Linked DNA regions of Homo sapiens: region 2 is linked to region 1. Evidence: promoter capture Hi-C in human tissues and cell types (Jung and others, 2019). All regions are on one chromosome and are shown on one strand. Each heading gives the region's core, a stretch centred on a gene start or on the middle of the fragment in contact. The rest is flanking DNA. Distances are from core to core; before and after follow the strand shown.

Region 1 (5,189 bases), core at 1,433-3,932:
CCTGGCCACATGTGCTTATTTTATATACATAATTGTAATCAGAATGTCTATGTTATTTGGAATGTTGCATTTCTTAACATATGAGTTGTTTTTCATTGCAGAGTTTCACAATTCAAAAGTAGCTACATAATAGCCTGTTACATTGATTTATAAAGTACTTAACCATTTAAACTATCGCTTGACATTTAGGCATTTTCAATTGTTCATTATTTATAGGTGACTTTGAAGCAAGGATCTTTTTGTGTCCAGTTGAGTTGAATTTTTACTTTCTCACAAAATGTGAACATTCTTGTTATACTCATTTTCAACTTGAACAAGCCAGCCCTGCACTTTCATAGGGCTCTAGGTAATTTAGATATTTTCCAAGCATGCTAAAGATTGGAAAAATTTGTACTGCAGGGTTTTTAGAAGATGTGTAGAATTATGACATTTTTACTGCTGCATTTTATCCAAGTTTGTTCTGAATTCTTTTCATTGAAATCTTTTCTGCTTAATTTTGAGCAGTGATAAATAGTGCCAATTTGTAACTTTTGATGCTTCCTATTCACTCCCCAGAGGTGCTGACCACTTGCCTCCCTTGAAATTACACACGTGAGATCCCTGCTTGCAGTTCAAAGATAAGGTCCCATTGACCTCCTGCCTGAATTTCTAGGAACCCAGGATATGGGGAGACCCAGAATATGGGGACACCCCTTGTGATTCCTCCAGTGTGGTTTTTTTTTTTTTTTTTTTTGAGACGGAGTCTTGCTCTGTCGCCCAGGCGGGGGTGCAGTGGCGCTATCCTGGCTCACTGCAAGCTCCGCCTCCCGGGTTCACACCATTCTCCTGTCTCAGCCTCCCGAGTAGCTGGGACTACAGGCGCCTGCCACCGCCCCCCGGCTAATTTTTTGTATTTTTAGTGGAGACGGGGTTTCACCGCGTTAGCCAGGATGGTCTCGATCTCCTGACCTCAGGTGATCCACCCGCCTCGGCCTCCCAAAGTGCTGGGATTACAGGCGTTAGCCACCACCTCCAAGTTTGCTTTTGATCAACATCCTCTGTGATTTCAGCGTGGTGTTGTAAAGGACTATGGACTAGAAACCAGACATGGGGTCTAGCTCTAGACCAGACATTTGCTGACACTGAGAACTCACTTCCTTATCTCCTGGCAAGCATCTCATAGAGTTGTGAAGATCCCAAAAGATAATCTATATGAATGCTAGGTCTGTGTGTGCAGTTATTTCAGTGCATAAATGCTTATAATTCTGCATTTTAATAGCTATGTGCCTAATACTATAATATTTGATCATTTATTAAATACTAAGTTTACTTATTTAATAATTACTTAGTAACATTTTAATAGTTACGAACGTCTGCATTTTAAATTTAGTACTGTATGGAGTATTCACTGAACTATATTGCATCCTTTTAAAACGGCCAAACTATCATTTTGTTCCATGATTTTTAAAAATTAATCGATGGCTAAGTACTATAACTAAGTTCTACTCACTAGATGTGTAAGGAAGTGTCCTCAGAAAAACAGGAATTGATAGAGTTGTCAAATAGATTCACACAAGTGAGAGGAAATTATCTTCCTATCAAGAAAAAAAAACCCTGCAAAATAAGATGGTGGGATGATAATGAGATATTGTCCCTGTATATTTATATTGAGAAAATGTGAAATCTACAAAGTGTTATGAATACCTTTTTTTTCTTTTTTGAGACAGAGTCTCGCTCTGTCGCCCAGGCTGGAGTGCAGCTGGTGTGATCTCAGCTCACTGCAACCTCCCACTCCCGGGTTCAAGCAATTCTCCTGCCTCAGCCTCCCAAGTAGCTGGGACTGCAAGCGCGTGCCACCACACCCAGCTAATTTTTGTATGTTTTTAGTAGAGACGAGGTTTCACCATGATGGCCAGGCTGGTTTCGAACTCCTGACCTCAAGTGATCCACCCGCCTCGGCCTCCCAAAGTGCTGGAATTACAGGCGTGAGCCACTGCACCCATCCAATACTTTTGATAGAAAAAAAAAATCAGAGGAAATTAAAAATTCTTTATCGGGGACCAGACATAGTTTTAAAATAATAATAATTATAATAACAGCAGTTGAAGTTGCGTGTCAGGAGCGCGTCCTCTCTCTCCAGCAGTAAGGGTATCTAATTATAATAATTAAGTCCAAGTGACCTTGCCTTCTTTAGGCAAACAAAGTCGGGAACAAGTTGCAACTCATTTTCAGAAAAAATCCTCAAGTCCTCTGCCCACGGCGGAAAGGGCGGCGGGTCGGCCGAGCCTGGGTGGCTTCCCGAGGGGTCGCCTCTCGCCCAGCTCCTGGCAGGGGCGCGTGGGTCCTGGCCCGGGGACTGCAGGGCCGCGGCGGGGCGGGCAGGGTCAGCTGGGCACATAGTTTCTCGGAATCCACCCTCCCGGACCCCCGCAGCCCAGTTTCTCCTCCCCTCAGCCCACCTTCTCTGCCCACCTCCTACCCGGAGCCGGGGAGGCGGCCGCGGTCAGCCCGGCCTCCCCGACTTGGGGTCCGCGTGCGCCGGGACCCAGAGGCCAAGCTGGGCGCCCCCGGGGGAGGGGTCTGGGTGGCGGGGCCAAGCCGGGGCGGGACGGGGCGGGGCGGGGCGCAGCCGAGGGGTGTGTCCGAGGGCGGCTGGAGGGAGGGGCGGCAGGACTCCAGGAGCGGCGGGGCCAGGGCAGCGCGGACTCGCGTCCCGTGGAGCGTTCCAGGCGGGCGCGCGGCTTTCTCCCCAGACCCACCGAGTGGCGGCGGAGGCGAGATGCGCGGGGGCGTGCTCCTGGTCTTGCTGCTGTGTGTCGCCGCGCAGTGCCGGCAGAGAGGTGAGCCCGGCCCGGGTCCTAGGGTCCCTGTCCCCCGCAGGCGGGCGGGCGGGGGCGGCCGCGGACAAAGCCCGTCGCGTTGGGGCTGCTGGAGTCCGGGCGCGCATCCTGATCCACCTCGGAGTGGGTGTCTCGGCCACGTGGGTCTCCCGCGCTTGCCGGGGAGGGCTGGATGGGGACGCCGCTCCTGCCGGACGCTGCCCGCTCTTTGCAGGCTTAGGCTTTAACCTCCTCGGGCTTTGGGGTTAAAGCCCAGCCTCGCCTCTGGCTTTTGCGGGACTTCGCGACCCAGGAGCGCCATCTACGCGAGCAGTGCTGGGGGTGGCGGGAGCGGGGCGCCCGGAGCGGGGCGCCGGGGGTTGCTTTTAGTGCCCCGGCTGCGCGGGCGGGGGTGGCGGGGCTGTTGGCCGGGCGCGGGGGATGAATGGAGAAAGAGCTCTCCCGAGTCGCCCTCATTGTCCGGCTGCGCAAGCTGGGTCGCGGCGGCCGGGAAAGGGCGGATTCCTCGGGGCCCCTGGCAGCCAAGCGGGCTAGTGGGGAGAGACGCGGCGAGAAGGGCGCCCCTAGCCAGCCGTCCCGGGCAGGGGGACCCGCAGGCGGCGTCCAGGGCACTGATGCGCCTTCCCGACCCGCGCTTTTTGTGCAATAGGCGAAGTGGCCAAACCCGCTCATTCACTGCGCGGGATTGACCGTGGGCGCGCCGGGGCGAGGGACCAGCGGAGAAGGGAGCACCTTGCATGCGCGTTGCAAGGATTGAGAAGAGAAACTCAGAGCGAATTTTCATTTTCTGTTTTTGCGGGCGGGCGGAAAGAGAGAGAGAGAGAAGAAAGAAAGAGAGAGAGAAAGAGAAAAGAAAGAGAGAGAAAGAAAGAAAAAGAAAGAAAGAATTCTTTTCCCTTTTGGGGGACAACCCTAGTCACCCACGCCACCCCTAGAGCTGTCTTCGCAGCGTGGCTTCGTGTTGGCTAGGCAGTCACAAATATTTGTTGAAAACATCTTAATGTATGCAGCACATGACAATGGGCGTATTCCCACGAATATAAACTTCATTAAAAAAAAATTCGAGTCAAAAGTAGTGGGCGGAATTTGCAGTGCCCTCGTGGGAAACGTGTGTTTGGGCATTGTGCTGAGTTGTGAGCTCTGCAGAAACGCGACCATCTCATTCATTCAAGCATTCATGATGGAAGCACTGGACCGGAGCTGGAAACGCAGCATTGAATAGCTGCGAGTCTGCTGCGCAGAGCCAGGCTGGGAAGAGGGAATTTACATAGTTATCAGCCAGAAGAAAGGAGCCTTTGGGGAGGGAGAGGAGCCTTAAAGGATTGCGAGGGGACTCCTGTCTATCAGGCTGCTGAAGGTGAACAAGTCCCGGTTTCCCACAGGGTAGAGAAAGAGCAGCTTGCCTCAGCTTATTGTTCCCCGAAATTGAAAGTCTTAGACTGAGGAGATGGCCTGAAGGTTGTCCTGGCCCCTCGGGGCTCGGCACTTGGCCTGGCGGTTATGAGTGGTTTTTGGAGAAAGTGGGACCTCATGGGGCTTTCCTGCTTTGAGATGCTGCGGAAAACCTCCCAGGGCAGGAGCCCTTTAATGTTTCATATCGCATTCCCTGTTTGCCTTTTTGCCTTCCGCACCCCACCAACCCTCACCCTTCCTAACTAGCCTCCTTGAGCAGTTTTGATTTTTTTTTTTTGCAGTCTCCGGGCTGCAGGCAGGAGTGGAGTGGCACCATCTCGGCTCACTGCGACCTCCGCCTCCCGGGTTCAAACAATTCTGCCTCAGCCTCCCGAGTAGCTGGGACTACAGGCGCGTGCCACCACGCCCGGCTATTTTTTTTTTTTTTTTTTTGTATTTTTAGTGGAGACAGGGTTTCACCATATTGGCCAGGCTGGTCTCAAACTCCTGACCTCGTGATCAGCCCACCTCGGCCTCCCAAAGTGCTGGGTTTGCAGGCGTGAGCCGCCGCGCCCGGCCTGATTTTTTTTTTTTTTTTAAGAAACGATTTTGTGCCCCATGAATAGCATGAATGATTTGTAAAGTTGTGTGTTTTGGTCAATAATCCTGACCTGCAAATCACCTGCTAGTTAGTTGTCTGGTGTTATTTTTTAAAATAACTTATTATCTATTGACATTCAGATTGTTAGACGTTCCCTGTCATTTCTGCAGTCTCTCTGGGTTACCTTACAGCTCATAGTATATGACCTGATGGCTCACTTTCCTTTGAAATTTAATGAGTTTCAAGTGAGCTCCTCCTAAGTATTGAATAGGACGTATTGTGTTTGTAAAAATAATGTGTTAAATTCATAGCTGGCAATCACATAAAATTATGGTTGCTTCATCACTTTTGTTGGAAACTATCCCTTCTTTTTTTCT
Region 2 (5,189 bases), core at 893-3,392, 87 kb after region 1:
ATCACCCAGGCTGGAGTGCAGTGGCGTGATCTCAGCTCACTGCAAGCTCTGCCTCCCAGGATCAAGCGATTCTCCTGCCTCAGCCTCCTGAGTAGCTGGGACTACAGGCACATGCCACCACGCCCGGCTAATTTTGTATTTTTAATAGTTTCACCATATTAGCCAGGATGGTCTCGATCTCTTGACCTCGTGATCCACCCACCTTGGCCTCCCAAAGTGCTGGGATTACAGGCGTGAGCCACTGCGCCCGGCCGGATTTAAATCTTTTAGGAGCCCATCTTCATTGAGATGTGAGATGTATTTGCGAGCGTGTGAGTCACATAACAATCTGTCTATTTGTAGGTTGGAGTCCGTCTCTCTGGACATAGCCAGCTCTAATGCCATCGACCTGGTGGTGGCCGCTGATGTGGAGCACTGTGAATGTCCGCAAGGCTACACAGGGACCTCCTGTGAGGTGACGCTTCTCTCTTCCTGTCTTTTTCCTTTCGTTCCTTCCTAAGGGGAAAACAGTGCACTGAAGGGGATGTCATGGCAAACATTTGATTTTTAGCTTTAGCAGCCCAATGTTTGGCTCAGTCTTTTTTGGGCAATAGAAATATTAGAAGTCACATTGTTTAAAAAAATCAGATTCCTCCACCAGGAATGGGCTGGAGCACCGGACAATATTCTGACTTAGTGCTGCCCTCTTGCCTTAGTCAACAAGAAACTTGCAATACTCATGCCATTGACTGTGTTTCTAAGGAGGATGGAACTTGATCATATCTGAACATTTACAAATCACCAGCATGTGACCTGGGTAGCTTTAGACAAGCCAGCCCTATTTTGAGACCTTTTATGGCCCCTCGCTATTTTACTTTGGTGGGCTCCACCTTACATGTGAAATATATGAAAATGCGCTTGGAATCCTCAATGAAAGTAATCTGTTGCTAAAAATATTTTGAAATCACTTGGACAAACATATTGATATTAATACCATAACAAGAATAGGCCGTAAGACTCATTGCACAACCATTACGTTTTTGTGTGTGTGTTTCTACCTTTAAAAAGAAATAAGGAACTGGATTATGGTGATGGTTGCACAGCTCGGTAAGGTTTTTACTAAAAGTCATTGAATTGTACACTTAAAATGGGTGAATTGTGTAGCATGTAAATGATACCTCAGTTAAGATGTTTAAGAAAAAAGACATTTCTGTACTCTGGCAACTGAGCAGTTTCTGTTTGTAACGTAGTGGAAAGAGGATGACTTTCCCTTCTCTTGCAGTCGTGCCTCTCTGGCTATTACCGCGTGGATGGAATACTCTTTGGAGGAATTTGTCAACCCTGTGAATGCCACGGCCATGCAGCTGAGTGTAATGTTCACGGCGTTTGCATTGTGAGTCTCTCACTGTAGTTCAGGTGCCCTCTCCTCCTCAATTCAGAGCCATTTGCTGTGTACAAGTGATTTTTTTTTAAGTGCTTCCTCCACGGAATAACCCTAGCCTCATAGACCCCAAAGAAAATTTACAGATTTAAGCTCATGTCATGAAATGTTTCCCGTTTTTTTTTTTGTTTTTTTTTTGAAAAAAGTTACTTTGGTAATAGTGGAAAAGGGATATACAACTTCATTATAGTTCTTTTTATTAGATTAATATAAAGTAATTGTTTTTATTTGCTGAGACTATAAAGCAATAGAAAGGTAAAAAAATGTTGTCTACTTATTAAATACAAAGCATAGGATCTTTAGATGACAGTGCTAATATTTATTTATTTATTTATTTGAGACAGGGTCTTACCTTGTCACCCAGGCTGGAGTGTGGTGGCACCAACACTGCTTACTGCAGCCCTGGATCTTCTGGGCTCAAATGGTCCTCCCACCTCAACCCTCCAAGTAGCTGAGGCCACAGACAATGCTAGTATTTTTTTTAAATCATGATATTACATAATATACCCTAAGAAGAAGAATAAAGTATAATCACACTCACTTATATACCATGCTTTATAGTTAGTTGGGATAAATTAATCAAACAGGTACTTCTTTCATGCAATATGAGTTGAAATAGGGCTTAAGAAATAGGTAGTTAATCTTGAGAATGAACTTTGGGGCAGGTGTGGGGCAAGACTTGTTTCTTAACTTCAATCAGGAATTCTTCTAGGCCCTATGCCCTGAAGCCAGGCCACACTCTGGGGTCTCATGGGTTTGATCCTCAGAGGTGGAGTGACTGCATATGCTGATCAGCTGTACCCTGGTCGCCTGGCAGGGAAATGTTCATGCTTTTTCCAAAAGAGATTGACTGAGTCACAGAGTTAGGGAAAATTAATTACCAGACCCAGGGAGAAGATCTTAGAATGATGTCCAGGATGGCTTATGTCCAGGATGGCTTAGAACTTAATTTTTCTTTATTCTGTAAGTAAAACTTTTGTTTTGCCCTTTGTTCTGTAAGTAAAGCTTCTGTAGGAATTGCATGAAGGGGTGGTTTACGGGCAGACTCAGTCCCTCCAGGATTGCTTTCCTCAGGTGCACAGCTTCCAACCGCTTGATGAGGTGGTTGCTTTTTTTTTCACCTCCTTTCCTTTGCCATTTGGGTTTGCAAGGCCTCCTGCCAGCATTTGGGGTGGGGTGGGGTGGGGGGTACAGCAGGCTGTGGTTCTGCCACTTATGTCTTTTGTAGCTAGGCTGAAAGAGTAGATTTCTCATGCTTCCATTAATGTATGTTTACAAATATATATTCACATTAAAGTGATAATGCTAAATAGCAACTGGCCTTAAAGCTTTAATTTTAATAAATAATAATTTTATAGCTTTAAACATGTTTTGGAAATAATTTTAGACTTACAGAAGAGCTATGAAAGAGTTACAGAAGTACAGAGAGTTCTGAAGTAACCTTCCCCCAGCATCCCCTAATGCTACCATCTTGCATAACTAGAGTGGAGTTATCAGAATGAAGAAGTAGCACGATAAGATGAACTACACCCCACATTCTGATTTCATCAGTTTTTCACTCATGCTCCTTTTTTTTGTAGGATCGAACCCAGGACCCCACACCATTCAGTGACTTTGCCTTTTTAGTCTCCTCTCCTCTAGGAAAGTTCCTCAGACTTCCTTGTCCTTCATGACTATGACACTTTTGAAGAGCACTGAGCATTCTGTGGAATGTCCCCCAGCCAGGGCTTGTCTGATGCTTTCTTATGACTAGGTTGAGGTTACACATTTTTGACCAGAAGACGTGGAGGTGCCGTGCCCTCTCATTGAGAGCAGATGGATAGGATATCATTGTGTCTTCTTCCTGGGGATCTTAATCTGGGTCACTTGAATTAGGTGATGTCTGCTAGGTTTTTCCACTCTGAAGTTACTATTTCTCCCTTCTTAATTAATGTTTGAGAGGGCAAAAATAATAAAAATTTAAATTAGAATTTAAGGAAATACAAAAAACGTGGTAGCATCATATATCTGTTAAATCTAACCTTGCTGGTTTTTTTTTTTCTAATATATTGTAAAAACAAGCTTGAATTCTTCCTTTTGTGTAGTTGTTCATAGCCCTGGGCCTTGCGTATAACTATCTAGCTTCCAGGAGTTAATTCTTTATTCACAGTTCATTAGAGATGAGGTTCCAGTTGCTCTTAGAGCCCCTGTTTTTCTCTCTGAGCTCTCTTAGCTCTTTATTCAAAGGAGAAGTCTGTGTATTTTCCTTGCAGCTTGGCATGATTTAGAAAAGAGAATGGCATCACAGTAAATTGTGCATGTCTTGGGCCCTCATGTCTTTCTTTTTTCAATCGAAAGATGTTTTTCCTCCCCAAGGAGAGGAATAGTCTCATTCCTTCACATACCAGATTCACCAACAGGGACAGTCAGGTAAAGGGCTGGTGGCACACGCCTGAAAAAGCACTGAAACAGACCCTCAGTGGGTTTTTCAACAGAACTACATACTAGTTTCCCCAAAGAGAAAGAAAGCACTATCTGACTCCTTGATCAAAGAAAACATACCATAGACATGTTCCAAATGAGCATTATCAAATATTTTTAAAATGAAATTGCAGTTACTCTGCAGAATACTTTTAGCTCAACCATGTAACCCTTTACTAAGACCAGTTGCATCTTGAATTAATTTGGATTCATTATCAAACCCAAGGTCCTATGAAGGATGGGAAGGAAAAAAGGGTCTAAGACTCTGTTGTCTGAGGACCAGCAGTGTGGGCATCACCTGGGAGCTTGCTAGAAGTGCAGAAACTCAGGCCCCACCTCAGATCCCCTGAACCAGAGTCTACAGGTAACCCAGGTGCACTTATTAATAGATTCATATTCCAGTTTAGATGCTCTGGTCTAGGATAACCCTAAGTAAAACTGATGAAACCCTGGAGTAAAATGGATGTAATACAAATGCTTACAATTCCAAATTAAATGTGGTATATGGGAAAACTTTCATCAACCTGAGGAATGATGGAAATGTATATGGTTTAGAAACTGAAAATACTAAATTGCTAGATGAAAAATGACCAATGAAAGTATGTAAAATGAGTGGCCGTAGGAGAAGGGGACACGGGGAAATGGGAGCTGAGGTGCACACCAAGAGGAGCAGCGACACACGTGTGCAGAACAAGCCCCGCTCCCTTCGAGCCCGTAGCTGCCCGGGGGTCAGTGCTGCCTGGTCCTGGCCCCAGTGCCGACCTCCGCACCCCTCCCCTTTGCTCCTGCACACCTCCTAACCACCGACTGCACTTTCTTTTAGAATGTTTTAAATGAGGGGGGGAAGGTTTTTCATATTTTTTCATGTATGTACCATTTCCAGTGCTCTTCATTCGCTGGTATAAATCTATGATTTCGTCTAGTAGGTATCACCTTTCTACAGCCTGGATTGTTAGCCTTTCTGTAGTGCAGATCTGCTGGTTGACAGATTCTCTTAACTCTCCTTTATCTGAAAAAGGCTTGCCTTCAGTTTTGAAATTGATTTTTACAGATTTCTCTTTCAGTACTTTAATATTGTTCTGTTGCCTTGTGGCTTACATGGCTTCAAGTGAGAAGTTAGTTGGTGGTCATCTGCTTATTTCTGTGTGTTATTCTGCCTTTTTTCTCTGCCTGCTGTTAGGAGGGTCTCTGTGTCCCTGGGTTTGAACACTTTGACTGTGCCTTGGTGTGTATTTCTTTATGCTGGGGTTTATTGAGCTTCTAGAATTTGTGAGTTTGTAGCTATCAACTTATGAAAAGTTTTGACCAA

Evidence for each region. The method cuts DNA at HindIII sites, captures the fragments that hold promoters and counts their contacts. A contact is called where the count stands out against the background at its distance.
Region 2: a fragment that was not itself captured here is called in contact with the fragment with the promoter of LAMA1 in region 1 in 2 of the 25 tissues and cell types used here (mesendoderm cells and spleen).

Annotation. Positions count from the first base shown.
Region 1 is chr18:7,115,290-7,120,478 of GRCh38, reverse strand. LAMA1 (laminin subunit alpha 1) reads left to right here and starts at 2,682. Exons shown (of 63, transcript NM_005559.4): 1 at 2,682-2,819. The coding sequence starts at 2,759. The HindIII fragment of the contact is 17,081 bases long and covers 1-5,189 here.
Region 2 is chr18:7,028,249-7,033,437 of GRCh38, reverse strand. LAMA1 (laminin subunit alpha 1) reads left to right here. Exons shown (of 63, transcript NM_005559.4): 15 at 343-454; 16 at 1,262-1,372. Among named protein-coding and RNA genes, the nearest start is that of LAMA1, 87 kb to the left of the region's middle. The HindIII fragment of the contact is 6,276 bases long and covers 1-5,189 here.